Linked DNA regions of Homo sapiens: region 2 is linked to region 1. The links are contacts of gene promoters, found by promoter capture Hi-C in human tissues and cell types (Jung and others, 2019). All regions are on one chromosome and are shown on one strand. Each heading gives the region's core, a stretch centred on a gene start or on the middle of the fragment in contact. The rest is flanking DNA. Distances are from core to core; before and after follow the strand shown.

The links. The method cuts DNA at HindIII sites, captures the fragments that hold promoters and counts their contacts. A contact is called where the count stands out against the background at its distance.
Region 2: a fragment that was not itself captured here is called in contact with the fragment with the promoter of KISS1 in region 1 in 3 of the 25 tissues and cell types used here (heart right ventricle, hippocampus and liver).

What each region holds. Positions count from the first base shown.
Region 1 is chr1:204,194,829-204,197,815 of GRCh38, reverse strand. KISS1 (KiSS-1 metastasis suppressor) reads left to right here and starts at 1,325. Exons shown (of 3, transcript NM_002256.4): 1 at 1,325-1,440. The HindIII fragment of the contact is 9,045 bases long and covers 1-2,987 here.
Region 2 is chr1:203,847,140-203,850,295 of GRCh38, reverse strand. It overlaps ZBED6 (zinc finger BED-type containing 6), which reads right to left. Exons shown (of 17, transcript NM_001395895.1): 12 at 2,609-3,112; 13 at 1,889-1,965; 14 at 270-585. ZC3H11A (zinc finger CCCH-type containing 11A) reads right to left here. Exons shown (of 18, transcript NM_001376342.1): 13 at 2,609-3,112; 14 at 1,889-1,965; 15 at 270-585. Among named protein-coding and RNA genes, the nearest start is that of SNRPE, 13 kb to the left of the region's middle. The HindIII fragment of the contact is 5,303 bases long and covers 1-3,156 here.

The DNA.
Region 1 (2,987 bases), core at 76-2,575:
CTCCTGCTTCAGGACAGGCCAACGTACACATCATCCCCACAGCGAAGTTTTGGTCTATGAGGGTCAGTGCTGTCCTCATAGGCTATCATTTCTGTCCTGGTGTTTAACAGCCCTAATGGGTGTGATAATAATATGTTTGCAATCCCCTGTTAACAGTAAGCATCAGACAAGTGAGGGGTGCTAACCTGCAGACTGCCGGCATGCTTCTCCAGCATTAGGGGACGACCAGGTTGAGCTTGTGCTGGGAGAGCGTCCTGTCTGAGGGTAGAGACATAGCCCCTGCCTTCAGAGACTCCCAGCCTGATAGAAGAAACAGTCTCTGCCCTGGAGAGCCCCTTGTCCAAGGGTATAGAGAGTTATTGCAGGCTCAAGAAAGAGACAAAAGTCACTTGCGATGCATGCAGTTAGCAAATATCTATTGAGGGCCCTCTCTGTATGTGCCCAGCAATGGAGTGGGTGCCAAGGGTACAGGGGGAAGGGGGCCTGTCCCTGTCCTCAAAGTGCTGTACCTGAGCAGTCACAAAATAGTATGGTGGTGGGTGCCACGAGACAAGAAGGTGGGGCCCCCAAGCAGGCTGTCTGGATGTGCTGCCACCTGGAAGTCCCCTCTCTGCACCCCTGGCACTTCCCAGGTGCATCCACCTTCTGCAGCTCCCATTTCGTCCTCCTTGCTCATAGCTGGTTGCTTACCTAAGGTCTCTGACCAGTCCATAGCCTATTCACCTCAAAACCCTGCGCTGAGGAAGCGCTCAGTGACCGAGGAAAGAAGGGAAGCAGGAAGGAAGGAAAAAGGAGAGAATCTCTGCCACCACCACCCTGTGCCAGTCACAGGGCGCAGTCTAGGAGCCGCCTGGAGACCCACGCTGACCTGGCTTTCCCTCAGAGCTGGGAGCATGGGATGTGAGGAGCCCCTGGGTCAGCCTGTGCCCTTCTCCTCCCCTCTTCCTGTCGTTTTCTACGTCTAATTCAGACTAGGTGTGTCTGTGGCTCTTCGGAGAGGAAACAAGACATTTCACACTGACACTTCTCCCCACCCTCCTCAGATAGCCCATTTCCACGTTGTTTGGGGGCAGGATGGGTCCTCTGGGTGGGAAGAGGGTGTGGAGGATGGAAAGAGCCGGTAAGAAGGAGAAAGTCCCGCCTCGGAGGGCTCGGGTGGGGCAGGAGGAGAGGCTGCCTCCAGTCACAGAGCCCGGAGGCAGAGGCCTCCCAAGGTGCCATGCTCTTCAGGAGGGTCTGAGGAGGAGGGAGGGGCGGCAGAGTGGGCCTGTGCTTGGAGACGTCACCCCGGGCTTTATAAAAGGGATGTGATCAGGGAGCTGGGGAGAACTCTTGAGACCGGGAGCCCAGCTGCCCACCCTCTGGACATTCACCCAGCCAGGTGGTCTCGTCACCTCAGAGGCTCCGCCAGACTCCTGCCCAGGCCAGGACTGAGGCAAGGTAGGCACACTGCAGTGTCCACCCCTGGGAAGGGGGTCTGCCCTGACCTGGGGATGCTCTGGAGGGGAGCAGGGAATCCGTTCTAAGACGGACAGATGCATCCAGGCAGGCAAAGGCAGGGGAGGGAGACACTGATCTTTCCTGTTTACCAGCCTGGCCAGATTATCCTGGGATGCCTGGGCGAATACACTGAGTCGCACTTTATTTGTGAAGCTAACACTCTGGGGATCCCGAGGGCTCTCTCTTGCTGTGGAAGGAATACATGCAATAAATAAATGCTGTGGCTGGAATTAGAGACCACAGACACGCTTGGATGGACCTAGGGAACCGCTCGGGGCTCTTGAGAGCAATGGGGCTCCTCTGAGCAGCTCCCCCCAAATTACAGATGGCAAATACAAGCCTAACCAAGGGCATCTACCTACCCACTAAGAACTAGGGGCCACTTCACTCCAGAAGCTTTCCAACCATGCCTGGAATTTCTGTCACTCACTGGATACAAACCCCCCAGGGTGGAGGGAACCACAAAAATTGTCTACAGCAGGTCGGCCACTCATGGCCCCTTTCCAAATAATTCATTTCTACCATATATGTTAAGTGCCCCGATGGGCTGGGCAGTGGAATCTGTGTGTGTGTGTGTGTGTGTGTGTGTGTGTGTGTGTGATATGTGTGTATGGGTGTATGTGTGTATATGTGTGTGATGTGTGTGCGCATGTGTGGTGTATGTGGTGTATGTGTGTGTATGATGTACGTGTATGGGTGTATGTGTGTATATGTGTGTGGCGTGTGTGTGCATCTGTGGTGTGTAGTGTATGTGTACGGGTGTATGGGTATATATCTGTGTGGTGTGTGTGCATGTGTGGTATGTGTGGTGTATGTGTGTGTATGATGTGTATGTATGGATGTGTGTATGTGTGTGTGTATGTTGTGTGTATGGGTGTATGTGTGTATATGTGTGTGTGGTGTGTGTGCGTGTGTGGTGTGTGTGCATGATGTGTGTGTATAGGTGTATGTGTGTATATGTGTGTGGTGTGTATGCGTGTGTGGTGTGTGTGGCATATGTGTATGTGTGTGTATGGGTGTATGTGTGTGGTGTGTGTGGTGTATGTGTGTGTGTATGATGTGTGTGTATGGGTGTATGCGTGTATATGTGTATGGGTGTGTGCGTATATATGTGTGTGGTGTGTGTGTGCATGTGTGGTGTGTGTGGTGTATGTGTGTGGTGTGGGGGGTGTGTGTGTGTGTGCTGGGGTCAGGCAGAGTTGTCCCATGGCGCACATGGTAAGTGCCATCCACAGTGGGAAGGAGGCACTCGGGGGGAAAGGGGAGCCGGAAGAAAGAGTACCACCCTCCAACCACACAAGCCCACTGCCCTCCTTCCTGGCCCACCACCCTGCTTCCGCACAGAGAACCGGAAATGTACATCTACCCACATTCCTGTCTGGCTCAGACCCCTCCAGGATGAAGCCCCTGCAGGGCCCCTTCCCCCAGCCTTGTCACTAGCTTTCTCTCCATGCAAAGCTCCATCCTCTTGTCTAGCTAGAGGGCCT
Region 2 (3,156 bases), core at 585-3,084, 350 kb after region 1:
CCTCTATTCCTTGTTTTTATTCAATACCAGAGGAAAGATGCACCATAGAAAGTTTTACACAAAGCTTTTTAAATAGCAATTTTAAATTCTGAGAAAAGAATTCATCTCGTTTTGCCTCTGTATAAAAATATCAGAAATATTACTATCTACCTGTGGATAGAAGGCAAATGAAATTCAACCCAATTGTTGCCAGGAAGTTACTGGCAACAATTGGGTTGAATTTGGTAATTTTGATAACCTAAAGCAATACACAGTATAGAAATACTTGCCTTTACCCCTTTTTTCCAAGGTCTGTGCTGCACATTTCACATTCAATAATGAGTCTCCAATCCCTGAGGTTTCTACCTCCACCTTCTGGGATGACTTTGTGGGAAGCCGCTTGGTCAGGTGCCGTGTGATTCCTGGCACAGCAGTGAGCACTGGTTTCTCTGCCACTTGGGTATTGCAAGAGGCTACATCTCCCCGAAGAGGTGTCAAGACTGATTTTTCCCTCTCCTGCTGTTTCTGCATGTGCTTCTCTCTCATGGTCTCACATCTCTTGACTTGAATTTTAGTGATGTCAACTCCTGTGGTCTCACCTGAAGCCTGTGGATAAATTTGAATGACAGAATTAAAATCTGGTACCTCTAATAACCTGTATGATGTAAGTACCAGGCTAACATCTAAGTTAAGCAGAATCTCACATGATCCAGAATCTGAGAGAAAAGCTCTTTATTTGATGTTAAATAGACAATACCCTGTTAAAGATGAAAGATTAGAATTACAGATGTATGGAATAATAAAAAACCCAGATTCCACAGGCTAGACAACCATGACTCTAAGTCAAATACTAATGATTCCTAAATAATCAAATACCTGCACAAAGATTTATGTACAAATATATTACTTTAAATTGTGTAAAACAAAATCTGAATGTCCAGAAAAAGACTGTATTTGTATAATGGAGAATCATGTGGTCAGTAAAAACAAACTTCTTGAAGAATTATTAACATGGTAAAGTTAAAGCAGGCTGTAAAATGATACACTGTAGAGTTCTCCATTATGTTCTAAACATGGGTTTAACATTAAACAAATTCACATGCATGCATATATAAACAAAAAGGTCGAAGAAGGCCAAGTGTGGTGGCTCACACATGTAATCCCAACACGTTGGGAGGCCAAGGCAGGCAGATCACTTGAAGCCAGAAGTTCGAGACCACTCTGGACAACATGGAGAAACTCTGTCTCTACTAAAAATACAAAAATTAGTCAGGCTTGGTGGTGCATGCCTTTGATCCCAGCTACATGGGAGGCTGAGGCACAAGAATCGCTTGAACCCAGGAGGCAAAGGTTGCAGTGAACCGAGATCATGCCACTGCACTCCAGCCTGGGCAACAGAGCAAGACTGAAAAAGCTCGAAGAAATCCATGGAAAAGATAATGATGGTTACATCTGAGCTGTATATTTTTAGGGTTTGTTCAGTTTTAAAAAAAATAAAATTTCCAACTTTTGTATGATGCATAGCATTAGAAAAAACTCAGTTAAAAAAAAGTAATGGCCAATTAAACAAAAAACTTTATTTTTTGTATTTTTAGTAGAGACGGGGTTTCACCGTGTTAGCCAGGACGGTCTCAATCTCCTGACCTCGTGATCCGCCCGCCTCAGCCTCCCAAAGTGCTGGGATTACAGGCGTGAGCCACCGCGCCCGGCAAACAAAAAACTTTAAAAGGGCAGCGAATACTGATATACATAGAACTACAGGAAATTCTCATAAGAAATTATAAGTAAAAAGAAAGACTGTTTACCTAATATATGAATGAAGTACTTAGAAATTTATTGTAAGGTAAAACTACCAATTATCTAGCCTTTGTTTGCCATGAACAAAACCATACAATAATCTTAAATTTACCTCTTTAGCTTCTGTTCTAATACTGCTCTGAGAATCAACTTCATTTCCTTCCTGAAGGTTCTTCTCTTCTTTCATCCCTGTATTCACATTAAAGACATCATTAGTTATTTTATTTAAGCTGCAACTTCATGATAGATATGTTAAACAAAACTTTATTTAATGAAAGTAGTAAGACAGGACAAATAAAATTACAGATAAAGCCCATCTGTGCTCCTAAAGTCTCAAAATACACATTAAAATAGCAAAGGTTGGCCGGGCATGGTGGCTCACACCTGTAACCCCAGCACTTTGGGAGACTGAAGCAAGCAGATCACACTTGAGGTGAGGAGTTTGAGACCAGCCTGGCCAACATGCTGAAACCCCATCTCTATTAAAAATACAAAAATTAGCGGGGTGTGGTGGCACATGTCTGTAGCCCCAGCTACTTGGGAGGCTGAGGCAGGAGAATCACTTGAACCTAGGAGGTGGAGGCTACAGTGAGCCAAGGTCATGCCACTGCACTGCAGCCTGGGTGACAGAGTGAGACTCTGTCTCAAAAATAAAATAAAACAAAATAGCATAGGTCTACATAGCACTACTGAAAAACTTCATTTAATTCAGTGTTTTCAACGTTATCTGAGTAAAGAAAGGTTGTCAAACAACTCCTAGGAAGATCCCACGGAACACTCCTCTGGAATATTATGTGGGGACGTGGTACTAGAGACCAAGTTCTCTTGTTACCTGTTCTTTTGGTGATTCGCAGCAGCCGCCTTGCCCCTGGAGTGGCCTCGTGTTGAGACGGGGAGCTGGTGCTGCTCTCAGAGCTCTGCTGCACCCTCAGTGCCTTCTCCAGTTTAATTTCTTCCAGCGTCTTGATGTGCACCTCCTGCATAGACTTTGTTTTACCTGCAGGCTCCTCTGATTGTCCTCTGCTGGCAACAATGGGTGGCAAAACTACTGTTTTTTTAATTTCACTATCAATCTTTAGCTTGATGCAAGTTGTATCCTTTTTGCTTTTTTGTCTCTCTGCTTCCTGCTGCCGATGTTTTTTTTCAGCCAGGACCTCAGAGAAGGTTTTGATACGGATAGTGGAGGAGCTTCTTGCTCCTGAAGTAGAATCATCAGTTTTTGAAGGTCCTTCTGTCTTGAGTTTAGTTTGCAATTCTCCACGTTTCTGACTGGCTCTTTCAAGAAGAATTTCTTCTAATGTCTTCACATGGATCTCACCAACTTTATTAACTTTATCTGTTTTCACAGGAGAAAAACATGTCATTATACTTGAAGTTCAT